Regions from separate parts of the Homo sapiens genome. Here all the other regions are linked to region 2. The links are contacts of gene promoters, found by promoter capture Hi-C in human tissues and cell types (Jung and others, 2019). All regions are on one chromosome and are shown on one strand. The core of a region is centred on a gene start or on the middle of the fragment in contact, and the rest is flanking DNA. Distances in the headings are between cores, read along the strand shown. Region 1 holds the start of SRRM2 (serine/arginine repetitive matrix 2). Region 2 holds the start of ATP6V0C (ATPase H+ transporting V0 subunit c). Region 3 holds the start of ERVK13-1 (endogenous retrovirus group K13 member 1). Region 4 has its middle 21 kb from the start of ABCA3. Region 5 overlaps KCTD5 (potassium channel tetramerization domain containing 5).

Evidence for each region. Contacts are between HindIII fragments. The study calls those that stand out against the background at their distance.
Region 1: the fragment with the promoter of SRRM2 here is called in contact with the fragment with the promoter of ATP6V0C in region 2 in 1 of the 25 tissues and cell types used here (dorsolateral prefrontal cortex).
Region 3: a fragment that was not itself captured here is called in contact with the fragment with the promoter of ATP6V0C in region 2 in 2 of the 25 tissues and cell types used here (bladder and dorsolateral prefrontal cortex).
Region 4: a contact is called between a fragment that was not itself captured here and the fragment with the promoter of ATP6V0C in region 2, in 2 of the 25 tissues and cell types used here (dorsolateral prefrontal cortex and liver).
Region 5: a fragment that was not itself captured here is called in contact with the fragment with the promoter of ATP6V0C in region 2 in 1 of the 25 tissues and cell types used here (dorsolateral prefrontal cortex).

What each region holds. Positions count from the first base shown.
Region 1 is chr16:2,749,271-2,755,363 of GRCh38, reverse strand. It overlaps SRRM2 (serine/arginine repetitive matrix 2), which reads right to left and starts at 2,726. Exons shown (of 15, transcript NM_016333.4): 1 at 2,518-2,726. It overlaps SRRM2-AS1 (SRRM2 antisense RNA 1), which reads left to right and starts at 2,764. Exons shown (of 6, transcript NR_027275.1): 1 at 2,764-2,922; 2 at 5,705-5,819. RefSeq lists enhancers at 1,318-2,160, 2,161-3,003, 2,885-3,174, 3,235-3,404, 3,004-3,846 and silencers at 2,315-2,374, 2,395-2,704. The HindIII fragment of the contact is 13,386 bases long and covers 1-6,093 here.
Region 2 is chr16:2,511,770-2,517,798 of GRCh38, reverse strand. ATP6V0C (ATPase H+ transporting V0 subunit c) reads right to left here and starts at 3,847. Exons shown (of 3, transcript NM_001694.4): 1 at 3,617-3,847. The coding sequence starts at 3,695. RefSeq lists silencers at 3,092-3,231, 3,652-4,131 and an enhancer at 5,037-5,331. The HindIII fragment of the contact is 15,008 bases long and covers 1-6,029 here.
Region 3 is chr16:2,668,039-2,673,499 of GRCh38, reverse strand. ERVK13-1 (endogenous retrovirus group K13 member 1) reads left to right here and starts at 61. Exons shown (of 3, transcript NR_040023.1): 1 at 61-217; 2 at 930-4,089. It overlaps LOC124903627 (a long non-coding RNA gene), which reads right to left and starts at 377. Exons shown (of 2, transcript XR_007064945.1): 1 at 275-377. RefSeq lists silencers at 1-80, 91-410, 3,408-3,624. The HindIII fragment of the contact is 5,955 bases long and covers 873-5,461 here.
Region 4 is chr16:2,358,208-2,364,479 of GRCh38, reverse strand. It overlaps the pseudogene ABCA17P. Among named protein-coding and RNA genes, the nearest start is that of ABCA3, 21 kb to the right of the region's middle. The HindIII fragment of the contact is 3,614 bases long and covers 1,331-4,944 here.
Region 5 is chr16:2,689,278-2,694,983 of GRCh38, reverse strand. The region is part of intron 1 of KCTD5 (potassium channel tetramerization domain containing 5); the gene reads right to left. Among named protein-coding and RNA genes, the nearest start is that of KCTD5, 9.6 kb to the right of the region's middle. RefSeq lists enhancers at 848-1,665, 1,666-2,484, 5,588-5,706. The HindIII fragment of the contact is 3,408 bases long and covers 1-3,215 here.

The DNA of each region.
Region 1 (6,093 bases), core at 1,477-3,976, 240 kb before region 2:
TTCCCCACCAATCCCCTGGATAGCACTTCCTAGTTTTTCTCTCTCAGCCCTGCCTCTTCCTTCTCTCCTGTGTTAACCCCATGCCTCCTCCCAGGTTCTAGCCTTTCAACTTGTCCCAACCCTAACGTGATTCTGAAAAATTCTCAAGTCCCAGCTTTCCTGGTTAGATTCCTTGGCTACACATACTCTATTCCTTTCTCCTATTACATATACTCTCTTTCTCACCCTCATCCTCTCCAAGATAGTTTCCTAGAACATGCATATATGAGAAAATACTACTAAGAAAAAACCCTAAGGAATACGTAAAGCGGAGAGAGTAATCAAAGATGTAAAAGAACTGGATAGAAGGGAAGGATGCATTTAGAAAATTCCAGAATGAAGAAGCATCATACAAATGTTTGGAAAAATATACTAGCGCATGCGCCTAAGGATGGGTCCCTACCCAAGCCCAGTAGCAGACCCAATATTGAAAGCAGAAGGTGACAGAAGAGGCTAAACCTGGATAAGGCAAGCAGAAATCCAGGAAAAAATGAAAAACTGTATGGCTCAAAAAATCAATTTCTCTACACCCCAATCCTCATTTTCATCTTCTAGTACCAATCCTCCTCACGGTTTAAAACTAGGTCCTTCTTCGCCTCTCCCCTACCCCACTTAATTTCTGCTTCCCCTGCAGCATGTTTTTGACCTGCACTTAATTCTTCAGCTTAACCATTCACCCACACTTCCATACCACCTCACACAAAAATCCCCCCACTCCTTAAGAAAGGAAAACCAGGCCGGGTACGGTGGCTCACGCCTGTAACACCTGCACTTTGGGAGGCCGAGGTGGGCGGATCACCAGATCAGGAGATTGACACCAGCCTGGCCAACACGGTGAAACTCCATCTCTACCAAAAATACAAAAATTAGCTGGGCGGCGGCGATTGCCTGTAATCTCAGCAACTCCAGAGGCTGAAGCAGGAGAATCGCTTGAACCCGGGAGGCGGAAGGTTGCAGTGAGCCGAGATCGCGCCACTGCACTCCGGCCTGCCAACAGAGCTAGACTCCGTCTCGGAAAAAAAAAAAAAAGAAAAACCAGTAGGTGCTAAGCAAAGGATATTAGGTCACAATGTTTCGGAGAACTTTTAGGGAATGAGCCACCTAGTCCACCCCACAAAAAAAGACGACGACCCCACGGCATCTAAGGGGTGTGTTAAGACACAGAAAGTAGGAAGATCAACACCACACACAAATCACCAAACCAAACGATATTACAAAACTCTTAAAGTGGGGGCCATAGACAGTGGATATGCAAAAGTTACCCAAGTTAAAAGCAGAAAGTAAAAAGTACAAAGGAAGACAAAAACACCCTTTTCTGTTGGGAAATTATCCGAGTGGTAAGCTAACAATGAAGTAGAAAGATATATTTGAATTCAACAGTAAAATATGCAAAAAAGAAAACGGTACCAAAAGGGGAGAAAAAGGGGAGACAAGGGTTGTCGAAAAAAATGGACATCAGCAAGCACAGCCAGCTCAGCACCGGGGCGCTCCAGAGCGGCTGAGTGGACACAAAGAACCCAGAAAGCTAAAATAGTAGCTTTAGAAGAGCCCTAAGCCCACGCACTTAGGATGAAAGACAACACAACACTCTGAAATTCTGATCCAGATTCGTCCTAACTGAAGCCGAGTGGAAACCAAGCTTCAGAAGAGCTGTGTGCCAAAGAACGCCTGAAACCAACCAGAAAACTTATATATGAGTCTGGCGTTTTCTTCCCAACGAAGGTCTCCAAAAGCCTCCTTAGTTTGAACACGAATTCTCGGGAGACGTTGAAAAAGTGTAAAAAGGGAACGCACGGTCTACCTTACAAATGTAAACTGAACACGTTCACTTTCTTCACAGTTTTTAAGATTTGGGGTTTCTCCCCGCCACTAACAACTCAAAGGCTGATAGCCGGGAATCCTAAACCATTTAAATCCGGCCCACGAAGTTCAAGGCCCTCCCCGCAGCGCCGGGGGCCTATTTTCGGCCTTGCGGAATGGGGGAGGGGGCTGCGCGGCGTCCCGCAGTCTGGGAGGCCCCCGACACGGGCAGCCCAACGCCGAAGAGAAGCCCGAGGAAAGGAGATCTGGAACCGGGGGCAAGGGTCCAGGAGCAAGCCCCCCGCCGCCGCCCCTTCCCCGCCACTTAAGGGCCGAAAACGGCAGCTGCAGGAAGGCCACCTCGGCGGCACATGTTGGGGGGAGGAGTGAAGCCGAGGCGCGCGCCCTCCCCCCTCACCAAGGGCGCTCGCGAACCCGAGTACAGGCGGCTGCGAACGCCGTTGTCATGGGGGAGGGGCGGGGGGGGGTGAAGCCCGCGCGCGACAGGAACGGCGGGAAGGGGGAAGGGAGGCGAGGGCGTCCGCGCCAGCGAAGGGCGTCGAGCGCGCGTGCGCGCGGAGGAGCTCGGCGGCCTGGGCAGTTCTCCGCGCGCTTTGGCCTCGCGCCGGGGCCGCCGCCCCTCCCCCACCCGGCTCGCTGGCTCCCTCACCCTCTCACCCGCCGCCTCCGCCCGCCGCCTCCGAGGGGGAGAGGTCTTGCCGCCGCCGCTGCTCGAGCTCCCGAGTCCCTCGGGCCTGGGGCCGCCGCCTCGCCTCGCCGGTCCGCCCGCCTCAGCCGACGCCGACGCCTCCTCGCTTCCTCAGGGGCCGCAACGGGCTCCAACTGCGCCACTCGCACCCCGCCTGGGCCGCGCTGCACGTCAGCACGACTAACTGCGTGCGTCAGCACGCAAACGCGCGTCGCGGGGCCTGCCGGGAACTGGAGTGCGCCCCGCGGCCTTTTGCGCAGGCGCCGAAGCCACACCGCGAAGTACCGTTTTTTCAGGCACAAGGAAGGTTTCACCCCGTTGCCGAAAGACTAAGCGTCCCGTTGGCCAGTGCAACGAAGAACGGAGGAAGCGACGTAAGACACCGCGTATTCGTAGGCCTTCCGCTGCGGGGAGGAGCACAGGGCCTAGCGGCAGCAAAGCGACGCCCGAGCGCGTCTCGTCTCCCGCTGTCGATGCAGAGCATTCTGGGAGTTGTGGTTCGGGCGTGTCGCGGAGCCCGGATGTAATTTCGGCTCGGGGCGTGGCGGCCATTTTGTCTCCCCATGTTGGGAGACGATATCCCAGCCGCGGTGGTGCTGCCGCTTTCGTGTGACTTTGGGTTTCCCGAGCGAGCCCGCAGCTGCACAGCAGTCCGCCTTCCCGTACCCGAGAGAAGCCGCCTCAGACCCCAGCCAGCGGGCACCCCCGGAGGCCCCGAGCCTGGCTGCAGGCCCTAGACCTGCACCAGGGGCCCAACCAGTTACCCGTAGCATGGGCCACGTTCTCCCGCTGTAGACCGGGCTGAGGCCCGACGGCCACCCCTGGGGGAGGAGTTTTCTTAGCTTCCGGTAGGGCAGCCAGGCCGGGGTCCCACCAGACCCAGGACGTGATACCGGTGAAGCGGCACATACAGGAACAAGGCAGGAGGAAAATAATAAGCACCTTAAAGTTTCCACTTTTCGGTACCGTACTTCCTGTTAATGTTTCTAAGCCCGTGATTCTGGGCCTGATAATCAGCCAGCCGTCCTCACAGCAGAGTTGTAAGACGCTGGGCTGCTCAAGCACAAGTTCATATCTAGACCCACCGCTGGCGAGCAGCCCTGGACGTCCCGCTTAGCTGTCCTAACCAACTCAGGTGGCCTTGATCCGCAACAGGACGCGGTACCACGTAATGAACTGTCCATTTGAGTGCAAGGATTTATATTTGTTATTACGATTTGGGGGTGTTTTTAAGAGGCAGGGTTTTGCCCAGGCTGTTCTCGAATTTGGGGCTCAAGCGATCCTCCGACCTCAGCCTCCCAAGTAGCTGGGACTACCCGTGCATGACACCCTATCTGGCCCTTGTTTTTTGTTGTTGTTGTTGTTCTTTCTTTTTTCACGTGGTTTCGCACTTGTCACCCAGGCTGGAGTGCAATGGTGTGTTGTCGGCTCACTGCAACCTGTCTCTCAGGTTGAAGTGATTCTCGTGTCTCAGTCTTCCGAGTAGCTGGGATTACAGGCGTGTGCCACCACGCCTGGCTAATTTTTGTATTTTTAGTAAAGACGGGGCTTCACTATATTGGTCAGGCTGGTCTCGATTTCCTGACCTCAGGTGATCTGCCCACCTCAGCCTCCCAAAGTGCTGATATTACAGGCGTGAGCCACCACGCCCGGCCCGTATCCGGCTTTAAGATTTGTTTTTCACTTGCCCGTGGGAGGATGTACTTATCTCAGATGCTAGAGCCGGGAGACCCTCCCCCCCACCACCCCCATCTCCTGCAGGAGCTCTGATCGCAGATTGGAGTGTCTGAACTCTGCATCTATGGACGGTGCTTCTGTAAGCCGGCCGCAACTCTGGAGTGGCATAGTAAAGTGGCAAAGGCTTTGCCTTTCTGGTTAAAGACCCCAGCACCTCCAGTGAGACCCTTTCCTGTACCCCCACTGATATTCTTTATGGAATGTTTTGTGCGTGAGTCAGCACATTTAATGCCCGTGAATAGTGACAAAACATGGTTTGCAGTACCCTAATGACTGATGATGCTGAGAATCTTTTGATGTGCTTGTTGGCCGTTTGTACATCTTTGGAGAAATTTCTCTTCGTGTCTTTTGTCTATTTTATTTTTTTGGGACAGAGTCTCACTCCTAACCCCGGGCTGGAGTGCAGTGGCACGATCTCCACGCACTACAATTCTTGTACCTCAGCCTCCCAAGTAGCTGGGATTACAGGCGCACGCCACCACCCAGCTCATTTTTTTATTTTTAGTAGAGGTGGAGTTTTTTGTAGAGATTGTGTCTCCCTGTGTTGCCCAGGCTGGTCTTGAACTCCTGGGCTCAAACTGTCCTCCCCCCTTAACCTCCCAAAGTGCTGGGATTACAGGTGTGAGCCATGGCACCCAGCCCTAGAATGATTTTTTAGTTTCCCTTTAAACTTTATTTTTTTATTCACTGTAGTGTGGTGGACGGTGGTGCCCCAAAACTTCACAACCACCTAGACATTCGGAAGGTGACCTTATTTGGAATAAGAGATTTTGCAGATGTAATTGAGTTAAAGATCTGAAGATGAAATCATCATGAATTTAGGGTAGGCCGTAAATCCAATGACTGACATCCTTACAAGAAGACAAGAGGACACAGGCACCCGGGGGAAGAGGCCGTAGGAGACCCAGGCAGAGATTCGGAGCGGTGCCCATGCCAGGGATCTCCAGGAGGAGCCAGAAGCTGGGAGAGGCCCTGCAGATCCTCTCCCAGAGCCTTTGGAGGAGGCACAACCCTGTCCACACCTTGGTCTCCACTTTCTGGCCTCCAGAGCTGTAGGGGAACCCACTTCTGTGGTTTGAAGCCACCAAGTTCGTGGTGACTTATGGCAGCCCTAGGAAAGTGACATGCACAGGTAAACCACATTCACTGCAGGAAATATACAAATCAGCAAAAAGAAAAAAAGCACACAGGGGCACCACCCCCAGAGACAGCCATGGCTGACATCCTAGCGGCTGTCACCTCGGAGTGATGTTCCTAAAATGCAAACTTCTGAACTGCTTAAAACTCTTCCAGACACCCTCAGGTTGACATCACAACTCCTTTGTTGGGCCTTCCAAGGCTGGTCCTTCCCGTGGCCTCTTTTCCCTCCGCTCTGTGACAGTCCATGACGGGCACACTTGCCTATGCTTGTTCTCCCAGGCAGTGGCCTTGTGTGGGCCTTCAGCTTCCAGTTCCATGGCCTGGTGGAGGACCCTGTGGTGCAAGCCTTCCTCCAGACCCCCCTGGCCTGGGGCCCAAGACTGGGAAGCCTTTGGTGAGTGGAGCACCTCCCATTTGCACACTGGCTTCCTGGAGCTTACATTACAAATAACTAGACAATTACCAGCCAGGACAGGTGCTAGGGAGGATGGGAACAGGGTAGGGGGGTGAGGATGATGTCTGCAAAAGCATCCTGCCCTCCAGAGGGAGACCAGACCTTCAGGAAGGACAATCCCTGGGGTTAATGCCATAGCCTCCCACCTCCCAGCTGCCTGGGAGGGTTTCTCGAATTACCTTTTTATCTGGAGACCCCAGCCCCCATCCAACCC
Region 2 (6,029 bases), core at 2,598-5,097:
AGAGACTCCGTCTCAAACAAACAACAAGAGTGAATCTCTGACAGACACACACACACACACACACACACACACACACACACACACAAACAGCCTGACCTGCAGAAGACTACATATGTCAGAGGTGGAAGGGACCAGGACTACCCCTACCATTCCTCTTCATATTTTATTGATATATTTGGGCCACAAAACTTGCCTACCCTGTGTCCCAGCACTCAGCAGGGGTGAGGACACAGGCGCGGTGACCTCCAGGCACAGAGACATGCTCCAGGAGAGCGGAGAAGGGGGTGCTGGGGAAGGGCTTCACAGACAAGTATCCCAAGTTGGCGGGAGAGAGGAGTCACAGAAAAACAAGGCAATAAGACAAGGGCTCTGGATAGCACCTGCAGAGGCACCCAAGACGACGGTGCTGGGTATCCAGGGAGTGACTATAGAGGGAGGAAGGAGGCTGGGACCTGGGCCAGGGAGCCACACGGCCTCCTCCACGCCACCTTGGAGGTGCCCAGACATGCCATGCCAACACCCAGTGCACCTGCAGACTGGGGCCCAGGGCCTGTCCCAGCGCCTGTCCTGAACTCCTGGTTACAGTGCATTTTTTCCCTGGCAAGCATATAGAGCAATTACAGTGCATTTTAGGGGGCTCCCACTGCAGGCCCAGGACCACATCCAACTGCATCATGTATGCACAAGAGACCAGAGCATGGCAGACACGTTGGCAGGAGACTGAATACAGGGAACTCAGCAACCCAAGTAGTGGACCCTGTGAGGCCAGTAGTCCACCAGAGGCAGGAAGTGAGCCAGGCCCTTTTCTACAGAGGGCAGCAGGAAGAATCATGTGGCTGGCAGGGGGAGGAGGCACCAAGAGGAGCACAGGGAAGAAAGGGATGGCCACCAGGAGCGGAATACCATGAGCACCCTGGACTCCAGTCCGGAGGCCAAGCCTGACCAGACTGCAGAAGGCAGACCTGTGAGCGGCACTAGGCTCAGCAGCCACAGAAAGAGTGGGGGGCCAGAAAGCAGTTGCAGAAACACAAGCATAAAATACAAGGCACTCGCCAGCAGGGAGGAAGTCACAGGAAATACAGAAAAGGAGCAAATGACAACTTCTTGAAGGACATGATGAAGAAAGAACAGGACATTTGTCATGAGAAAAAAAAGGGGAAGCTGGGACGGGGGCCTGCAAGAGGTTTGTGGACCTCATTCGGTTTAAGACCAATCCGTCAGTGCCAGGCAGGCCAAGGGCCAGGAGCTGGGGACACAGCTGGAGGTTGGCGTTGTGGCAACAGCAGAGGCCACTGGAGGGCAGGGGGCTTGTTTAGGTCGGCACAGCAGGTGAAGCCAGGTCCTGGAGGAAAGCATGCTGAGAAGGCAGAAATGAAGTCAGAAGTTGAGCCAGTCATGGTGGCTCATGCCTATAATCCCAGCCCTTTACGAGGCAGAAGCAGGTGGATCGTTTGAGGCAACAAGGAGTTTGAGACCAGCCTGAGCCACATGGCGAGACCCTGTCTCTAAAAAAAAAAAATTAGCTGGGCATGGTAGCCTGTGCCTGTAGTCCTAGTTATTCAGGAGGCTGAGGCAGGAGGATTGCTTGAGCCTGGGAGGTTGAGGCTGTAGTGAGCCATGACCACACCACTGCACTCCAGCCTGGGAAACAGAGCAAGACCCTGTCTTGAGGAGGGGAGAAAAAAAAAAAAAAAAAAAAAAGCAGTTGTCTGAATTGGCCAAGTGAAGTCAGAGGTCAGCTCCTGGAGAGCCACAGTAAGCCACGTTTATCCCGAAGAGCCAGGGATAAGCAGGAAAGGCCTAGGCCAGCAATACCGTGTTCTCAATTTCCAGACACCTGCTGGTCAGGCTGCCCAAAGACCTGTGTAGGTCTTGACGGAGAGAGAGGAAAGGAGCTGGGTGCAGAAAAAGGGCTTGGTGGACAAACTCAGGGCTTCAAGGGCAAGCAGCAACAGCTAGAATTTAAGTTCCACATGGGCGGGGATCCCATTTTGTTCACTGCTGTCCTACCAGTACCTGGCACATAGTAAGCGCTCAATCAAGATTGTTTGGATGAATGAGTGACAGCCACAAGCTAATACCCCACAGGTGGCCAGGCAAAATGGAATCTCTGAAGGCATTCTGAGGGCAAAGAACAGAGGAGGCTGGGGGGAAGGGCTCGGCAGCCTGTTGGGAGAAGCCTTGAGTCTGTGGAAAGAGCAGGCGGTGCCTAGGGGGAAGGAGAAGTCTAGACCACTTCTTCCACCACAAATGACCCCTTACTTGCACACGACGGGAAGGCCAGGGCTCACTCACGAATGGCAGACAGGCCCAGGCAGAAGGAGGCCCGCAAGAGAACAGAGAGCTCCAAGCCCCCACCCCACAGGTGTTTACAGTCAGCAGAGACTGTTTGGAGTTCAAACCCTCCACATATCTGCACTAGGAGCCTCCCCAGGCCACCAGGCAGGGTGGGGCAGGGCACGGTCATCAAAGCTAAAACCAGACCTAACCACGGAGGCGGAAATCAGACCAGGCCAGGCCAGTCCACGGAGGCTGAGACTGGGCCAGAACTTAACTCGTCGGACCCACATTCCTGGGCCTAGCCCTAGCCCAAGTGCCATTCTCCCAGGGAGACCAATTGTCACTAAATTGGACGCCCAGGACCTGTCAAGGCCCAATTTCAAAAGCAGGGTGCCACCAAGAACCCTAGAAGGCCCCTTCTCCAAGCCCAGGGAAGCCCCTCCCAACTTCAGGCCTCAGGGAGGGAAAGGAAGGTCATTCATTCACCCCTCCATTCATTAGGACCACAACTGGAAGCCTCAGTCCTGAGGGCAACGACTGGATCCCATAAACTCGGACACCCATGCCACCCTCTCACCCACCTCAGAGCACAGACCCTCTGCAAGCTACACAGCCCCGCCAGCGCCGATGCTGCTGTCTCCCCGCTCCCTCCACTTCCACACACTCCCACCCGGGTCTCCGCGGGCTCTCCGAACCAAGCCCTCAGCCCAGCTTTCCCAAACAGCCCACACAGCGACACGGGTATTGGGCAACTGTAACCAGCTCCAACCGGAAGTACCTGCCTGTGGGTGAGACCCACCTGACCCTCGGGGCCGGCCGCCATAAGGGCGAGGGCTGAGGACCTCCCGTGGGGGACATGGGCTCCCCACCAGCCGGAAAGCTCCAGCGACCGGCTGGGCGTTCCTGGGCCGGACCCGCGCCGCCGCCCGCGCACTGGGGCCTTCGAGGTGTGATGTCACCTGCCCGCAGAATCGGCCCCCCTCGCGCCGCCCCCCTCGCGCCCCCACCCCAGCCTCCCTCTCGCCGCTCCCGGGGCTAATATGGCAGCGGCGCCGCCGCCCCACCCCCGCAACCGCACGACCCGGCTGGCAGGGCCGCCGGCCCGGACCCCCGAGACTCACACCCCGGCCAGGCCCGCACGCCCTGCGCCCCGGACCCCCGGCGGCTCCCCGCAGCCCTCGGGGCGCCGACCCCCGCCCGCTGTCACACGAGGCCCGGGCGCCCCCGACAGCTCGGGATTACGTCAGAGTGACGTCACACACCGGACCCCGGCGAGCTGCGGGCATGAGCAACGCGCGCGCCCCCGCCCCCGAGTCCCTCCCGCCGCCGCGCTCACCGCTGAAGACCATGGCGGCCGAGGCGCCCATGACGGCGAAAAACGAAGCATACTCGGGGCCGCTCTTGGACTCGGACATGTCTGCGGGTGGGGAGGGGGCAAGCTCTGCGGGCCGAGGCGGTGGCGGAGGCGGGGGCGAGGACGGGCCGGGCACGAAGGTTTGCGGGCGGGCGGCGGCGAAGGCGATCCGGCCCGTCAGCCGCTGCGCTCTAAATACCAGCACCGCAGAACAAAATGGCGGCCGCGGCCGCGTCACATGACCTGGGCCCCGCCCCTGCGAGCCGTACCACTTCGCACCGTGGGGGAGACGCGTCCCCGGGACGCCCGGCCGGCCCGTTGACCTCCCCCGGGCTGTGCCGCCCGCCCAGCGACCCGGCCCCGGCGCCCGGCCCCGCCCTGCCTCGGCCTCCGCGGGTGTTTCCGGGCGCCGCCGGCCTCTGGATCTCCGCAGCGTTGGACCGGTCTCGCGCCGGGGCGGGGCGGTGTGGTGTGTGCTTCATTAGCATACGGGGCGGGGCCTCGGACGCCCCGCCTCCTCTGCGGCTGCGCGTCGTCTGCAGGTGTTGGGTTCCCGGCGACGCTTTTCTTTGTACCCCTGGCGTGAAGCTGCAGGCCGTGGTTTCGCGGCCTTGCCCCCAAGACGGGGCCTCACCCCTCCGGGCGCTGGTCTTCCAGGATCTCCCTACCAATCCTGGGCGAGCTAAGGGTCCCAGCAGATGTGCGGCGCGCGGGCCTCCTCTGCCACAGCGTCCGGAAAAGCCCCCAGCCCACACCTGTGAAGTCCCAGCCCGTGGCTGCGGTCACCTCCCTCCACCCTGTCCCCAGTCTCCTCCAGACCCAGACCTACTGCCTCTGACCCAGCAGTTGGTGACTTCACCTCTCGCTTCGGAGAAAAAGGACCCCCTCCCCGCACCTGTCTCTGCCTTTGCATCAGGGACCCAAACATTAGTGGGGTGTGTCTCTGCCCCTCAAGATGTAGGCATGACTGGTGGAAGCCCTGTCGGAACTGCGACCTCTGGAGGCCCCCCGGGCTCTGCACGTTCTGGCGTCCTGGTCCTCCCACCTGTCCTTGCAGCCACCCACTCACGCAAAGCCTGCACCTTCAGGGCCATCTTTCTGTCTTTCTGGAGCAGTTGGAGCGGTTCCCGCAGCCGTGAAAGCAGCCCAGCCAGGGCTGGCGCTGCCCTACTGATCCTGTGTGGCAGTCCCTGGCACCCCCTCTGCCTGATCTCCATTCCCCCTTTCAGGGGCCCTGGGCAGCTGCCACCAGGCCTGAGTGTCCTTTGAGCTCTAAGGCCTCATCCTGGGTTAGAGCTCTCCCTGAGTAGCCTGGATGCTGGCTCATCACCTTCTCTATGTAGGCAATGGGGTCATGGCCCCTGGTCTGGCCCTCCTGCTGGACTCAGCCCCACCTTCCCCAGCAGGAGCCTCCCTCAAGCCCCTTCCCCAGGCTAGCCTGGGTCTGCCACTCTTGGAACTTGCAGCCCGTGAAAGTCCCTAAGTCTGTCCTGGTTCAAAGGAGAGGAGGCAACAGATACGGCCAGAGGCCCTTTCTGCTCCTCCCTCTTTCTTGCCCGGCCCTTGTTTCTGAGAAGACGAATCTTCACTCTGTCTCCACCTCCTCACCTGCCCTTCCCTCTCCAGCTCCTTGCCCTTGCCAAGGTCACTGGTGACCGCCATTTCTCTAAGCAGAAGGACATCTGTCAGGCTGTCCAAGTGGACCTCTGTGCTGCGTGGCCTGCCACCCTCTCCACACACTCTCCTCTCTCCTGCGGACTTCCTAAATCTCAGACGCCCTCATTCTTCCTGGAGTCACAAGGCCCTGTAGCCCCAATTTTGCTGCAGGTCCTGGCATACCCAGGGCTACCCCTAGCTCTGCCCTTCCCCTGCTTGATCCCATCCTTTCCCTGGCTTTGTCCCCCATCTTACGCCGTCTTGTCCCTCACCTGCACCATTCCAGCCCCGACCGCCCTCTGAGTGAGAGCAACACCAGTGCCTGCCCCCATAACTCCAAGCCCTCCAGGAAAGCCTAGGCCAGGAAGGCTGTGCCTGGGGCCGAATTCAGACCAAGGAAAGGTGGCGCAGAGCAGCCCACCATGGAGAAACAGCACAGTCCAAGCTCAGGGGTGGGCTGGGCACGGTGGCTCCCGCCTGTAATCCCAGCACTGTGGGAGGCCGAGGCAGGAGGATTGCTTGATCCCAGGAGTTTAAGACCAGCCTGGGCAACAAAGTGAGACCTCGTCTCAAACAAAACATTGTAGGGTGGGCAAAGAGCACCTAACTCCATTGTGGCTGAAACACCAGGACTGGGGACATGGGGACGTGGAGAGACTTCCCTCTTGCAGGAGCAGGGAGTGGGTCAGCTGTGCTCACTGGCCTCTTACCCATTCATTTTCTGCCTAAGTTCTAGTGT
Region 3 (5,461 bases), core at 2,601-5,100, 160 kb before region 2:
TGCGACGGAAGTCCTGCCTGGCGTCGCGCGGGGGCGGGGCGTCGCGGGGGGCGGGGGCATCGCGGGGGGCGGGGCGTCGCGGGCACAGCGTGAGGGCCGCCGTTGCTGGAGTTCAGCTTAGGGAAGGAGGACTCTGAGGAGGCCCCGAGCGGCGGAGCGCTTCGGGGGAGGCGCCCGCGCAGACGCGAGGCCCATAGCCAGGACCACCACCTAGCTGGTGAGCGCGCGGCGAGGCGGGGCGGCCCGGGGTCCCGAGGGTCGGGTGCCGCCTTACCTGCGGCCGGGCGGCCGGGCCGGGGATGGCGGGCGCCGGCCGAGGGCGCTGCTTGGCTGCGGCGGGGAGACCGGGCCTGGGTTGCGTCGGGCGGCGGCCTGGCCGGGGGCGCTGACAGACGCGCGGAGGGCGGGGGAGGCCGGGAGGTGTCACCCGGCCCAGCGGGGTGGAAGTGCCTGGAAAGTTTGTTTTCGGCTTGGCGCAGCCTGGAGCCGAGCCTCCAGGGTTACCTTTCGGTTCTGTCTGTAGAGGAACCGCCCTGGGCTTCCACCTGGAACGGGGTCCTTGGCGCCTCCGCCTGCGAGAGAAGCAGAAGGTGCAAGTTCTTGCTGAAAGCACCTGATGCTCCTGGGCCCCCTTTTCCAGATTCTTGATGACATTGGTCGGGAAAACTCGCCTTTCACGGCCCGGCCAAGGGGCATTTGGGTGCTTTTGCTGCCCGTGGCTGTGCTCAGCGTTGTGGGAAGCCCCTGGGAGGCCGAATGTGCAGGATCACCGAGGGGAAAGTGAGCTTGACAGGTAGGAGGGATTTTAGGGGAAGGATCAAAACAAACCACTTGTTGGGTGAAATGTTTTGCTAAATGTATCGCTGGTGTTTATTTTCTCTCTGTCGCTAAAAGTATCCCTCGTGTTTTTATGTTTTCCATATGCTAAGTTCTACAGTCTGGGGACGACGGTTTAAAAATTTATGCCTTGCATGCGATGTGCAGTGGGTGATGGAAGAACGTCTACATGGCTTTAAAATTGGATTTAAAAGGCAAATATTTTAAATGAAGGAAAACCCAAGAAGTTTACTTGATTCCTTATCTTCCAGGATGCGACTTTTGTTTATTTATTTATTTTATTTTGATGGAGTCTCGCTGCCGTCGCGCAGGCTGGAGTGCAGTGACGCGATCTTGACCCGGGAACCTCCACCTCCCGGGTTCAAGCGATTCTCCTTCCTCAACCACCCGAGTAGCTGGGATTACAGGCGTGTGCCACCATGCCCGGCTAATTTTTGTGTTTTTAGTAGAGACCGGGGAAGGTATGGGCCCTCTTTTGAGAAAAATGCAGAGTGACACTGAATTTTGTAACTACATCAGGAGGCTCTTGAACCTTCTGCAGCTCACTCGTGGAGTTTGTAGAGATGCGTAATAATCCGAAGTGTTAAGGAAGAAGGTTCTGTTGAGAAAAAGTTGGAGGGCTGAAAGGGATGCCTTTCGCTATTTCGACATGTGTGGCTGTACCCCAGAGTGCCCTGGCTAACACGCAAAACCATGAATTAGGCGGCTTGGCGAGGCTCAGTGGAGGCTGGGGCCGAGAGTCATGTCAAAGTTTGTGGGGTTAACCTGCACCCAGTGACAGTCATGGCGAAGTTTGTGAGGTTAACTCGCACCCAGTAACGCTGTTCCAATGCAAGGTGTGTATTTGGTGTCATCCACGGGAAGAGGAAACAGCAAATTTTCTCATGGCCTTGGCAGTTCCACATGATGGACATTTCATATCTGCAGTTTTCTTCGCATGAGATGGCTTTTTTGCACAAAAACACTGGAATCCAGTGAGCAAGAATGATAGAATGCAAGATGGATTTCCACATGAGGAAGTGTCACGAACAAGCGTTTTGCATCTCTGTCAGCTGGATTCCCCCATGTGTACGTATGTGAGAACATGCCGTGTTTCCTGTCTGTAATGGTAGAGGCAGCCCTGATACTGGATTTTCACCTGAGGATGGATAGATCTTCAGGGTTCAAGTGGGTTTGCATCTGGACTTTAGGGTGGCCCTGTAGGCCCTGTGTGAGAAGCCCCCTTCCCAGTGAACTTTCCCTTGTGTGCCCGCGTGGACAGCCAACAGGGGGAGCAGTGCGAGCGTGAAGGCAGACAGTGGCCTGGCCCAGTCTGATGGTAAGTGGGCCAGAGGCAGTGAGTACCATTTCTTGATCTGACTACTCAAGACAGGCGCTTCCCTAGGTACTTTCACACCTCATTGCGAGGTACGTGTTGTTCCCATTTTACAGGTGCAGAAGCTGAGCTGCAGAGGCGTTAGGTACCTGCCTCATAAGTGGTAGAGACTCCAGTGTCACCCTGCCCCTCACGTTCGGAGCCCCCGAGGGAGGGTCTGCCGGGCAGCTCAGCCCAGCACTCTGTAAGGAAATCTTCAGTGCCACTGCCCAGGATGTCTTCCCGGGGATTGGGCCTGAATGTCTTGACCATGCCGTGCTGGAGGTAGGAGGGGTGTCTTCATATGGAAGAACTGTACATATTTCTTTGGCAGATGGCTGAACTCTGTGACCCCGGGGCCTGTTTCAGCCTCCTGCTGTCAGAAAGCAGCTGTTTGGGAAGAGGCTGTGATTCGGCCTTGTTTGAGGGCCGATACTCTGAATGGGTGAGGCTTGGAATCCTCCCTTTGGAACAAAGAAACATAATGATTTTGCTGAAGGTAGAATTGGGGGACTAGGCAGAGTGGCCTCCTGCCCTCCCTGGGGTGGTTCTGTCTTTTGCAAAGGTGGCTGCATCCTTAGGGGAAGGTGAGGGGAGAAGCAGGGAGCATGGAGAGAAGTGGCTTTCGATTTTCTCTCTCCTTTTGGGGAGTTCCTCCTTATGTGGCTGGTCTGGTGCATAGTGTGATGTATTCCTGTACGCAACGTTGCCCTGACAGCCAGTCCAAGCTGAGTCTAGAGCTGGCAAGGTGAGCTCCCAGTAGTAAGAGGGTGTGGGCGGCAAGCCACCCAGGCACCGAGGCAAGAGACAGAGGACACGAGCTGTTCCAGTATAATAAAATATAAAACAAGAATAGTTATACCAGATATAGATCTTAGATATGATTATATATGAATATCATTAATCATGAGTTTGCAGCAATTACTTTTTATTCCAATATTATGATAATCCTCGCTCTATAATCATAGCCTAGGAAAAACCAGGCCATACAGAGGAGCTGAGGGGACATAGTGAGGTGTGACCAGAAGACAAGAGTGCGAGGCTTCTGTTATGCCCGGACAGGGCCACAAGAGGGCTCCTTGGTCTAGCGGTGACGCCAGCGTCTGGGAAGACGCCCGTTACCCGGCGGATCGTGGCCCAGTGGTAGCAAAAGGTGTCAAGGAACAACACTCACTACTTAGCAGACCGGGAAAGGGGCGGGGGGGGGGTCTCCCTTTCCCCGGGGGAGTTTAGAAAAGACTCTGCTCCTCCACCTCTTGTGGAGGGCCTGACATCAGTCAGGCTTGCCCGTAGTTATCCGGAGGCCTAACTGTCTCCCTGTGATGCTGTGCTTCAGTGGTCACACTCCTTGTCTGCCTTCATGTTCCATCCTGTACACCTGGCTCTGCCTTCTAGATAGCAGTAGTAAATTAGTGAAAATACTAATAGTCCCTGATATGCAGAAATAATGGTATAAGCTGTCTTTCTCTCTGTCTCCTCTCCCTCTCTGCCTCGGCTGCCAGGCAGGGAAGGGCCCCCTGTCCAGTGGACACGTGACCCACGTGACCTTACCTATCATTGGAGGTGACTCACATTCTTTACCCTGCCCCTTCTGTCTTGTATCCGATAAATAACAGCGCAGTCAGACATTCGGGGCCACTACCGGTCTCCGCGCATTGGTGGTAGTGGTCCCCCGGGCCCAGCTGCCTTTTCTCTTATCTCTCTGTCTTGTGTCTTTATTTCTACACTCTCTCATCGCCACACACAGGGAGAGACCCACCGACCCTGTGGGGCTGGTCCCTACATCTGGCGCTCTGACGTGGGGCTCTCCCTCGCTGTGTGAAGTTGCACCCTGAGTGCGGGATCAGCGGAGGAGTTCAACGAGAGATTCCTGAGGATTGCAGTCTATAAACTTGGTGGTAAGCTTGAGCACTCAGTTTTCTGGGGACACCATGGGACAGGCCAGTACAAAGTATTTGGCTTATTTAAATTTTATAAAAACTCTTCTTAAAGAAGGAGGTGTTAAAGTTTCTACTGAAAAGTTAATTGAACTATTTGAGGTTGTAGATCTTCTTTGCCCTTGGTTTCCGACTGAGGGAACTCTAGAACTTAAAGATTGGGTTGAGATTGGCAAACAATTCAAAATTGCTCATAAAGGGGGACATTTTATCCCACCCACCATTTGGTCAATCTGGGCTTCGGTTCACTCTGTCTTAGACTCCTTACAGACTCAGGAGGACAATATGGAGACTGATCCCTCTTTCCTCTCCTCTGAGGGAGGTCGAGGAAGCGCTCAGCTCTCTTTCCCCTGAGGATACTACACAAATTGAGAACGTAATTTCAAAGGAGGACTTCCACTCTGACATGCCTGCACCACTTCCACCTACACCAGAGGCTACTGCACCCCCATTGCCGCTTTATGATGATCTTTTAACTGACCTAAATATACTAATCTCCCCCAATCAGCAAAACTCAGCTGAAACATATCAACAGCCATTGCAGCCAGACCCTCCTGTCTCTCCTCACTGTTTCAACGCTGCCGCTGTGCAAATAGCAGATGAGACCAGGCAGCCTGTAAACGAGTCTATAAATTATGTTTCTATGCAGCCCGGTACAGAGGCTCCGCTATATGAACAGCTCAGAAAAGAGGCTTCCAATTCTCGGCCCGGTAATGAGGCCCTCAATCCTATTTCTCCTAATCGGACTCAGTTAGAGTCACAGACTCCCTTGAAGCCCTTTCCTATAAATCAGACTCGAGTAGAGTCACAGTCTCCCTTGAAGCCTGGTTCCTTTCCTGCAAATCGGACTCAGAGTCACAGGCTCCCTTGAAGCCTGGTCCCTTTCCTATAAATCAGACTTGGGTAGAGTCACAGGCTCCCTTGAAGCCTGGTTCCTTTCCTGCAAATCGGACTCAGAGTCACAGACTCCCTTGAAGCCTGGTTCACACTTGCCGTGGCAGCCTGGTTTTCAGGCCCATGAAAGACCTGCTCAGCAGGTAATCTGCTGTCACCCTGGCTTTCAGTTTTTTGACTCTCCTTCTATTCAAAATTCTACCTCTTTTTCTGCTCCTGGTCCGGTCGCAACTGCTGTTGCCAATACTACCATTGCCGCTCATAAGCAACAAATTACATACATCCCTGAAGATGACACTCCGCTTATGAGGGCTATAGTTCAAGCAAGGGAATATGGGGATCCTGAAACTTGGCAATTTCCTGTAATTTTACAACCTCCAGTACCTGCCACCCCAGCAGTACAAAACCACCCACAGCCTGTTGTTGATCCTGCCCAGCA
Region 4 (6,272 bases), core at 1,888-4,387, 150 kb after region 2:
CCCCACCTTGAATGGGACTTAACTTTTTCTTCTTTCCCTCTGTGCCTTACAAGTCTATGAAAACGAGCATTCGATTTCCCCTAGTATGATGAATGTTTGATCAAAAGCAGTTTAGGGCCTCCACTGATCTCTTTGGGTTCTTTCCTTCATCTAGATTTTTTTTCTTTTTTTTTTGAAATGGAGTCTTGCTCTGTCTGATCTCGGCTCACTGCAACCTCCATCTCCAGAGTTCAAGTGATTCTCATGCCTCAGCCTCCCAAGTAGCTGGGATTACAAGTCGCACCACCATGCCCGGCTAATTTTTTGCATTTTTAGTAGAGACAGGGTTTTGCCGTGTTGCCCAGGCTGGTCTTGAGCTCCTGAGCTCAGGGAATCCGCCTGCCTCAGCTTCCCAAAGTGCTAGGATTACGGGCGCCACTGCACTTCAGCCTGGGCAACAGAGCGAGATTCTGTCTCAAAAAAAAAAAAAAAAGAAAGAAAGAAATTTCATAATCTCATATGTATAAGGTAACTGAATTAGAATACATAGTATTTTAGGATACCAGACAAGCATGAAGCACAACTTTCTTTTCTTTTTTTTTTTTGAGATGGAGTCTTGGCCTGTCGCCCAGGCTGAAGTGCAATGGCACGATCTCGGCTCACTGCAATCTCCACGTCCTGGGTTCAAGCCACTCTCCTGCCTCAGCCTCCCAGGGAGCTGGGACTACAGGTATGTGCCACCACGCCCGGCTAATTTTTTTGTATTTTTAGTAGAGATGAAATTTCACCATGCTGGCCAGGCTGGTCACAAACTCTTGACCTCAAGTGACCCGCCCACCTCGGCCTCCCAAAGTGCTGGGATTACAGACATGAGCTACTGCACCCGGCTGAAGCACAACTTTCAAAACAGTGATTTCCCCACATTTTACCACTGAGGGCATTTTTATTTTTTATTTTTTTAGAGACAGGGTCTCGTTCTGTTACCCAAGCTGGAGTGCAGTGGTGCAATCATAGCTCACTGTAGGTTCAAGAGATCCTCCCACCTCAGCATCCCAAGTAGCTGGGTCTACAAGCATCAACTACCATACCTGGTTAATTTTTTATTTTTTGTAGAGACAGGGTTTCACTATGTTGCCCAAGCTGGTCTCAAACTCCTGGAACTGAAAGCTTTTAAAAGAATTATCCTCACTCAGGCTGGGTGCAGTGGCTCATGCCTGTAATCCCAGCACTTTGGGAGGCCAAGACGGGCGGATGACCTGAGGTCAGGAGTTTGAGACCAGCCTGGCCAATAAGGTGAAACCCCATCTGTACTAAAAATAGAAAACTTAGCCAGGCGTGGTGGCGGGTGCCTGTAATCCCAGCTACTCAGGAGGCTGAGGCAGGAGAATTGCTTGAACCCGGGAGACGGAGGTTGCAGTGAGCCTAGATCTCACCATTGCACTCCAGCCTGGGCAACAAGAGCGAAAGTCCATCTCAAAAAAAAAAAAAAAGGAAAAGAAAAAAAAAATTATTATCCCCATTGAGTGGCACTGAAGCTTGGAGGGAAAAATCTCTATTCACTTTATGCCCTATATATTATTAGAATACTTTTACAATAGCATGTAGAGCAATTATAGTAATTTTGAAAAATTTCTCCTATAAACTACATATTTTGAAGAATGCTATCTACCTAACTACATTAATTTATTCAATAAATATTTATTGAGCACCTACTATGTGCTAGGTACTACAACAGGCACAGTGATGAACAAAACAGACATGGTTCCTATGCCCTCATGGAGGTGGAGTCTAGTGGAGAAAGGCAGACAATACACAGAAGCAAGAAAGTGAATATATATGTAAACATTTATTAAAATTCCCTTTTTGATAGAAAGTATAAAACAGGGTTCTGTGACAGAGAATAAGGCAGAGGTGAGAAACCTAAAACCGATTTAGCTGCTTTCCTAGGCATCAGTTCAGCTGAAACGTGAAGACTAAGAGGGAGCAATGCACAGGGAAGGCTGAGGGCAAAGCACTGTCAGAAGGAACACCTGCTGCAAAGGCCCTATTGGGAGAAAACCTCATGTAGCTGCTTTCTAGGAAGTAAAAGACCAACATGACCAGTGTGTGGGAGCACAATAAAGAGCCAAACTAGATAAGACTGGGAAAAAAGCAGGGTCAGAACCTGGAGAAGAGCTGGTTTTCTTTCAGGGCAATGGGAAGCCACTGAAGGGGTTTAAGCTAGAGACTAGCTGGATCCTATTGAGCTTTTGAAGATCTTTCTGCCTCCACACGGAGACTGGATTAGAATGGGACAAGAGGAGAAGCAGAGACCAGTTAACAAGTTAGAAGCTATTTCAGACCCTCTGACTCTCTGAATGCCTTCCATTTTTTATTAGAGACATATAATTGCCAATCAGACCTTTGGATTAATATGAGATAATAGGTGTCATGATAGTGAGTTAAAAACAAATACTTAACATTTAACATTTTAATTAGCCTTGAAGCCTTCTGACATATATAGACAAGACTCCATATGTTGTTTGAAATAATAAAAATATCTCATGGACAGCTTCCCCCCAACTACCACCTCATAGGCTCTTTAGAATTTGGAGACACTAGATTTAGAATCACTACTGTAAGAACTCTCGGGGAAAAACTTCAAACTGTACTTTATAAAAATGTCCTCCCGATCCTTACCCATATTTACATCTAACCTTCAAACTCAACATCAAAGATCTGTTCCACCATTTCGGTGACAGCCTTCAATGTTTCACTTATAGAAGGGATATAAACTAGTTGAAATCTATTTTTCAGGAAAATTGTAGAAGTCTGGCAACAAACTGATATCAATTGCATGGCAGCTAGTAGCAGGTCTTTTTATTGGAGCACTACTAAAACGAAGATACAATACAATGCAGAAAATAGCAATGGCATCAAGATTTCAAGGACTGCTACCAGAGTCTTCCGTTTCTAAAATAAAAACAAAAGCTAAATGTCAACCCAAAACAGAACACATGTGGTGAATGCTCTTCCATTTAGAACACTTTAATTTCTTCCAGTCTCCCTGCAAAACACACGAAAAAGAAAAACACAGAGTAAGAATTAGCTTGAAACATCTCCTTTTAGCCTTTCTGTAACTCCAATGGCCAGAAATCAGTAACAATGATGTCATCTTTAATAATTACATGACTCATTTGCAGAAAAGGGCCCCTTTCCATGTAAAGTTCTTAATTGTTCTTTAACCCGTTATTATGAACCAATTTAACTTAAACATTCAATCCCCCCCAAGGACTTATATCTTCCCACAGATAACCATACCAACTTTAAGATGAAATCCTTCCAGCGAAGAAGTTTTAACTTTCTGAACACCGTCATTTTCCTAGCTGAAGAGGAGGGCTCATCACTAGTCAGGAAACAAATGAGGGAAAATGTTATGCATAGCACAAAAGTGTTAAGAGTTACTTTTTCGTCCTTGAAAACTTTCTTCTTTGGGGCTTCCAGATCATTGTGATGGACTACTTTTCCTCCTATCATTCTAGGAATTCCTTCTAAGTCTTTTTGCTGATACTTCCTCCTCTTCCCAACCTCTAAATGCACTCCAGGGCTCAGTCTGTGCTCTCCTTAGGTGATCTCACTCAGCTCTTAGATTTGAATCCATCTATATGCTGGTGACTTCTAAATTTGTATCTCCAGCCTAGACCTTGCCTCTGACTCTAAATCCAGATACCCAACTGCCGGCTTAATACTTCCATGTGTTTCATCTAAGTTGACATGCCCAAACTGAGCTTTCTTATTCCTGTTAAAAGATTGTCCTACAGTCTTCTTCACTGTTAACGTCAGTTCCATTCTTTGAGTTATATAGGATTATTATCTTTCTTTTTTTTTTTTTTTTTTAGACGGAGTCTTGCTCTGTCACCCAGGCTGGAGCGCAGTGATGCGATCTTGGCTCACTGCAACCTCCGCTTCCTAGGTTCAAGCGATTCTCCTGCCTCAGCCTCCAAGTAGCTGGGATTACAGGTGCCCACCACCATGCCTGGCTAAGTTTTGTATTTTTTGGTAGAGATGGGGTTTTACCATGTTGGCCAGGCTGATCTCAAACTCCTGGCCTCAAGTGATCTGCCCACCTTGGCCTCCCAAAGTGCTGGGATTAGAGGCGTGAGTCACCTGGCCTGGGCTTATTCTTTTTTAATGACACAGGAAAGCAACATGTTACAAAATGAACTGGTTACAAGCAGTAGGTAGAGGATGACTTCAATTTTAATTAAAAATATATAAAATTATGAACATGTATATAAAAAACTGGAAGGTTAAATACCAAAATATCAACAGTATTTAATTCTATACAGGATTATTGTTGACTTCTCTCTCTTTCACAGCTCAAATCCAGTTAGTCAGCAAATCCTGTTGGCTCTACCCCTGAAATAGACCTAGAATTCAATCCCTTTCACCACCCCTATTCTTATCGTCCCTTGCCGGGATTTCTGCAATACCTTCTTTGGTGGTATCAGTACATCTGCCCTTGCCACTTTGCAATCCATTGTCCATGCAGCAATAAGAGCGACCCTCTTTGAGTCAGATTACGCTTCCTCCTCTGTTCAAAACTCTCTACTGGCTCTTATCTCACTCCAAGCAAAAGCCTTGCCTTACAATGAACTACACAGTTGTACATGGTATAGTTCCTGTTCACTTTCTCATGTCATTCTGTCTCCTAGTTTACTTCTCTCCTTCTCCCTGCTCCTGTGTCACAGGCATAGCTGCTCCTCCTAAAACACACCAAACACACTTTTGCCTCAAAACTCATATCCCTCTGTCAAGTACACACTTCCCTCGTGTATCAACACTTCTAGCTCCCCTACTACTTTCAGATATTTCCTCAAATGTCACTTTCTCAGTGAGGTCTTTTTGATCATTCTATATAAAATTTCAACATCCCTATAGATGTCATATCAACTTTCCATGTTTATTTTTCTTCTTAGCACTTTTAAATGATTTACATGCTATTTATTTGCTTATTTAATCTGACATCCCTACTCAAATTTATGTTCTGTGAAAGCAGGAATTGTTTGTTCTGATTTTTTTTTCCAACACTGAATCCCAAGACACAAGAACAGAGGCGGCACATGGTAGGAACTCAGTAAATATTTGATGAATGAATGAATGAATTAAAAGGTATGCAGTCTTTGTAGGCATGTGACTGAAGCAAAAATGACTGCGAGAAAGAAAAATACCTCGGATAGCAGAAAGTTCCTTCTCTTCTCAATCTTTTTGTTTCCCAAGTGTAATACATGCTTTAATTTTTTAGATACTATTATTATAACAAAAATGAGATTTTCATTTACAGAAAACATTTTTCCAGTGGGGAAAGAAAGGGGAATATATTTTTTCTCAGGTGAAAGCATCTCTAACTTTGCACAAAAGAAATTAAAGAAACAAGACTCATATAAATACGGAGAATGGAGAAAATATGACTATTGTTCCTGGAAAGTCCTCCTTCTTGGATGTGTTGTGTCTCTTGTCTCTTACTGTACTTCCTGTAATGCTACTTCCTTAAATACAGAGACAGTGTTTCCTTCTCCTGAATATAAGAATTTTAGAAGCAGCATCTTCAATAGTGAATGCAGGCCAGGCGCGGTGGCTCACACCTGTAATCTCAGCATTTTGGGAGGCTGAAGAGGGTGGATCACCTGGGGTCAGGAGTTCAACACCAGCCTGGCCAACATGGCAAAACCCCATCTCTACTAAAAAAAAAAAAAAAAATTAGCTGGGCATGGTGGCACATGCCTGTAATCCCAGCTACTCAGGATGTTGAGGCAGGAGAATCACTTGAACCTGGGAGGCGAAGGTTGCAGTGAGCCGAGATCGCACCATTGCACTCCAACCTTGGCAACAAGAGTGAAACTCCATCAAAAAAAAAAATTAAAAAAAAAGGCCAGGCGCAGTGGCTCACGCCTATAATCCCAGCACTTTGGGAGGCTGAGGCAGGTGGATTACCTGAGGTCGGGAGTTTGAGACCAGCCTGACTAACATGGAGAAACCCCATCTCTACTAAAAATACAAAAATTAGCTGGGTGTGGTGGTGCATGCCTATAAATCTCAGCTACTTGGGAGGCTGAGGCAGGAGAATCGCTTGAACCCAGGATGGGGAGGTTGCAGTGAGCTGAGACACGCTATTGCACTCCAGCCTGGGCAACAAGGGCGAAACTCCGTCTCAAAAAAAAAAAAAAAAATCTGTCAAGTCACTGGCTGAACGCAGAGATAATGAAACAGAGACTTTCAGTACTCACACATAACAAGAAATATAGTGTCTTTAG
Region 5 (5,706 bases), core at 262-2,761, 180 kb before region 2:
GAAGCTGGCACAGCCTGTCTTCTACACAGACTCAGACCTTCCGTGTGGCTCTGCTGGGGCAGCTCCTGCCTCCCCCCACATGCCTGCAAGGGTCCTGCTCCCACCTGCGAGCCACTCCCACAGGGGCTGGTGCCTGCGGGTGCCCTGGAGGCCGGGGAGCTGAGGCCTCCGTTCAGAAACACCGGCAGCCTCCCCGGCGAGGCCCAGGGCCAAGCGCTGGAGAAGCAACCCCACACCCCATTCGGAGCAGGAGCAGCCCCCTCACCAGATGGTGGCTCCTGTGGGGCCATGGGCAGGCGCTGGCCACGGGAATGCCAGGCTCGCAGATATGGGGAGGCCGAAGGTGTCTCCACCACAAAGCACGGGGCCACGCTAGGACCCTATTTTCATCCATGGACAAATTCTGCCATTTGGGTGCTAAGACCTAGTGGTCTCAAGAGATTTTCCCAAAGTCCACCACCGCAAACCTGCAACAACCTGCTCTTTTTAGATCACAGGGACTGAGTTTTGTGGCTGAGATAAAATCAATTAGGGCTCCGGGCATGGGGGCGCTGGACCCGGAGCCTCGGCGGCCCCCCTACTCCTTAGGGTGACCCCAGCTCCACACAGACCTGACCCTATCCTCCTTCCCCACCCTCCCCCGGAACACTCCAGCCAGAGCTGCCCACCCCACAGGCCCTGCCTCCTGGGCTTGGCCCTGCCTTTCCCCAGCCCTCCAGACTCCACAGCTCTCAAGCAAGGGCCGGGGCCACAGGGCCAGCTCCCGGGAAGAGGACGCTGGGCGGTCCTGCGCAACTGCTAAAAAATGGACACCATTTCCCACAAAGGGGCCCAAGTCTGGCAAGGCGGCCAGTGCTGCCACCCGAGTCCAGGGTTCCTCCCTGCCCCACCCCCATACAGAGAGAATGCTGGCCGCGTGACGTCCGCACACCGCTCAGCTCAGGAATTATTCACGGCTCACTGCTACCTCGACAGACCGCTGGCAGGAGGTCAGGAAAGATCAGATAGGGCGGAGGCTCGCCTCTGCCCAGGACAACCCCAGAGAACCCCTTTGTCAGCCATGGAGGCCTCCAGGCCTGGCCTCAGTGGTCAGACTGCAGGCTCACAGCCAGGCCACCCCAAGCCTCAGTTTCTTTACGAGCAAAAGGTGGGGGAGACCAGCTCGTGTAGCTCGGGGCCGCCATGAGTGCCAGGGCACCCAACCTGTGGCAGGACCTGGGCACTGAGCCGTGACCTCTAGGCCAAGACAACCCACCATGTGCTTCTCAGGCCCTGGGCCGGTGCAAGAGGAGAAGGAAGCGTGCTGGGCGCCCCCAGACACACGAGGCAACCCCAGCCCTGCAACTGGAAGGATGAAGGCAGGAGGGAAGGAGGGCAGGGTGGGGACGGCCATCGGCGGAAACTGCACAGCAGGACAGAGGAACACAGACAGGTCCAAGGAGCCGGCAGGGCACTGAGCGTGCTGGCACTGGGCTCGGCCTCAAGACGGGCAGGCAGGGGTAGGCCGCTGCCGTGTCTTGGCCACTCCTACCACTGGGCGGGGCTGGCTTTTCCATTAAACACCCCCTTTAGGAGGCAGCTTTTGTGGCTGATGCTTTGAAGGAACTCCTGACCTCAGTCTGGCCACAGCTGGCCCAGTGCGGTGATGCCAGCAGCAGGCCAACTGGTGCAGCTGCTGCCATCACGTGATACCTGCCGCTGCAGGGAGGGAACAGGGAGGAGGCGAACAGACCCCACTCCCCACACCATAGCCCACTGCCCTCAGCATGGCAGGAGAGCAGCATGGTTGGGTGGAGAGGGGCCCCGATGCAGAGCTGGGGCTGTGCTTCGGGGGCCTGGGGTGGGTAGTGAGAGTGGCACCAGCGGTGAGGACCCAGCCAGTGGCACAGCCATCACACCCACCCCACTGAAGATGTCAGGTTCCCGGGCCTCGGGAGGAGGATCTGCGTGGGGCTGCCTGGGGCTGCAGCCCTGGGGTTCGCCCCACCCAAACTATGGCTGCAGACCCGGGCTTCCCGCTCCACGGAGCAGGCAGGCCCACAACTGCAGCTGCCCAAACCACAGCCTCAGGCATCCCTGCACTCTTGGGGGCCCAGAAAGGCCCCTCTGCCGGGCCCTTGCAGGCTCAGAAGTGCCTGCTCTCACTGCCTGGCTTACTCCTATTGTTGGTGCCTGCTCCGATCTTGGAGCAAAGTTGGGGCCGAGCCCAGGCGCCATGTATGGCAGCAGGAGGCAGATAGATTCCTGGGAAGAAGGGGGTAGGTCCCCGGTAAGGCCCCACCTTCAGGCCAGGGAGGGCATGAAGGCTGGGGCCGGGCTGCCAGTCCCGGGGACCAAAGTGGGGACTTGTGGTGCGTTTTCCGGGCCTGCCCATGAACCAATTAGTATGCACTTCCTTCCCTCTGGGTCCATAAGAGCCCTGGGCTCAGCCAGAGCAGGGCAGAGGACAAAGAGGACAGAGACAATTGGCAAGTGGAAGACCAGCTGCAGAGGGAAGCTACCCTCTCTGCTGAGAGCTGGGAAGTCAATGGAGAGGAGCCAGCCAGTCCGGGGCCGCTTCTCTGCTGAGAGCTGCCAACTGAATGAGCCGACCTGCCTACAGAGAGGAGCTGCCCCCACAGTCTCCTCTGCACTGTCCCAACACTTGGTAAAGCTTCTCTTCGTCATGCTCACCCTCCACTTGTCTGCTACCTCATTCTTCCTGGACGCAGAACAGGAACTTGGACAAAGGTGCTGCCGGCCAGAGACGTTTCTGGCCAGAAAAGCGACACCCTAAAGACACCGTATCAGCAGGGCTGGGCACATCCAGACACAGGGACGTGGAGCTTTGCAAGGCCAAGTTTACCAGCCGGAGCCATGGCACCTTTCCAGGGTGCCTGAAGAGAGATCCTGCTGGCAGTGAGAGCTCTGGCCACAGTGGCTAGGCTCTGCCCAGCTCGTCTCAGTCCCTGGAGCTCAGGCTCCTGACAGAGGGACCAGGAAGCCCCCGGACGCACCTGTGTGGGAACCGCACGCCCCAGGAACCTTCCTGATGCGCTTTCCCTGCAGCCTGTGGCTCCAGCCCATCCCTGTGCTCAGGGGCCAGCAGCCTGGGTGCAAAATACCCAGCCATCAAAGGCAGGGGAGGCTGAGGCACCGCGGGGGACCCCACGTGCATCCAGTTAGGAAGAGACTTGAAAGGAGCAGCCTCTGGAAGACTTCCAGGAGTCCAGATGCTTGTTGCCAACCTCGCTGGGAGCCAAGGCTGCAGGGCAGAGGAGCAGAGAACCCCAGCTGCGTCTACCAAGAACCTGCCAGCCGCTCCACACCCCCGCCGCCCCAGTGCCTCCAGGACAGTGGGCTTCCTATGGGGCCCCCGCCACAGTACACTCCTCCCACGTGGTTCAATTCTCTGAGCCCCACGACCTCTGGGCCCATGCAGGACCTACCCAGGCTGCGTGGACTCGGCGCGCCGGGCCTGCAGCTGCCCCCACAGCCCTCTCCCGGAGTGACACTGCAGAGCCCTGCGTGGCCCTAGAACCCAGCTGAGCCGCCGGGCACCAGAGGCTGAAGGGCGAGCAGTAGGCTGAACCCTTGGTGGGAAATTCCAAAACTGGCTCTTCTGTGGCTGGCCTCACAGCTCTCCGGCCGTTTCTTCCCATGGGTTCCTTCTAACTGGTGGGTTTCCTCGAGAAACAGGCCCTGTCTGGGCAGAGCGGAAGGTCAGGGACATCCGCACCAGGGCGGGGAGGCAGTGGCGTGTGGAGGTGCTGCTCTCACCACTGCTCTCTTTGAAGCTTTCAATGAGAGATTTCCACATCCATAGGAAGTGCCAGGGTCTTAAACCAGGACCCCCAAATCCCACCAGGGTTCGGGTCTCGCTGTGGCCTGACTCGCTTCCAAGCATGTAGGCAGGGTCTTGGTGCTCCCAGCTCGGGTGAGCCCACATGTTCCAGATCGGCCTAATGTGTGCGGGGGCTACTCGTGGTGCCAGCCCAGGCCCAGACAGTGCCCAGCCCAGGCGCGAGGGCCTCGGCAGCTCACTGCTGGTGTTGGGGATGTGGATCAGCCTCCACCCTGATGCAGAAACAACAAAAAAATATGGAACATGGGAAAATGGGAAACACAAAATCATACAAAATTCAGGATATACTCCGAGGCTCATGGAGACAAAGGCAGCAAGGTCACCTCGGGGAGGTTTAGAACAGCGTCTGGGCCAACCTAGGCAGGGCCCCTGTGCTGCCCGTAAGGCCATCAGCGGCGCCTGCCCAAGCCCCCATGACACGAGGAAGGAAAGATGCCCCGGCCCGCTCACGCCTCTACGACTGGGATGAGGAGAGGCGGCCAGGAAGCCAGTGAGATGCTGCGGGCTGGGCGTGGGGGTGCTCTTCTTCCTGGCTTTCTCATACGTTCCACGGCTTACACAACCAGCACAGGCTGCGCTTGATCTCAGGAAGGTTCGTGGTGGTTTTTTTCTAAAACAGCCATAATTAAGACTGTTTTATTGACAAGTCATTTCCCTCATCTTCCCCGCGTCTCACTGAATTGGCATCTGACCTACTTGTGGCCGGGCCCAAGCTGGCATTGAGTGGGCCCAGCAGGCTGGGCTGAGCCACCCATCTCCAGAGGTCCCAGGCTTCAGCCGGAGCCACAGGACGTAGGCCGGGCAGGACAGTTGCCAAACCACAGAGGAGAGGGCGACCCTGGCCACGGGAGCACATGGCAGACAGCGCCGAGCCAGGGCACACACAGCCCTGGCAGACGGAGGAAGACTCCGCAGACAGAGCTGACTGCTCGCCCACTCCCCAGGTCCACAGGGCAGCCGCAGATGGACGTCTGGTCAGGAGAGCAACACTCAGAGAAGTGTGGTAACAAGACTGGCCGCTCTGCTCATCTCACCAGACTCCGGCTGCAGCTCTCCGCCATCCATGCTGTCACCCAGCAAAGCACCGGGGGCAACGTGGGGGTTCCCCAGCCTCTCAGGGACAGGTCCCTAATGCAACCAGCAGCCTTGAAAATGGCAGTGAAGGGCTGGGCACAGTGGCTTACGCCTGTGATCCCAGCACTTTGGGAGGCCAAGGCAGGCGGATTACCTGAGGTGAGGAGTTCAACACCAGCCTGACCAACATGGTGAAACCCTGTCTCTACTAAAAATACACAAATTAGCCAGGCATGGTGGAGGGTGCCTCTAATCCCAGCTACTAGGGAGGCTGAGGCAGGACAATCACTTGAACCTGACAGCCCCGTTGCAGTGAGCCAAAATTGTGCATTACACTCCAGCCTGGGCGATCCAGTGAGCCTCTGTCTCAAAAAAAAAAAAAGAAAAGAAAACGGCAGTGAGGAATGAGGGTGGAGACTGCCAGGCTCTCACGCCAGATTCTGAACCCAACATAACCCTGCTGCTGCCCAACCCTCCCGCAGCTCCCAGAGCTCTGCAAAGAGGGTCGGCCCTGCGGCTCTCAGTCATTCCCGGTGCTCGGAGACACGTGCCACCAGAGGGGAACGAAATCAAGAGGGTGCAGTGCCCTGAGCCAATCCAGGAGATAAACTCTGTCAAATTGCCCCACAGAAATCTAGACGCGAAGGCATAGAATTTCCTGTGCACCAACATCTGCAATCAACCTAATTAGAAATACTTAGTTTTTACTCTGAAATTATCCATTTCAAGTGACTCTGTTTCAATTTCGCACACAAAACCTTCACCTCTACTCTCTCTTCTGTTTTGTT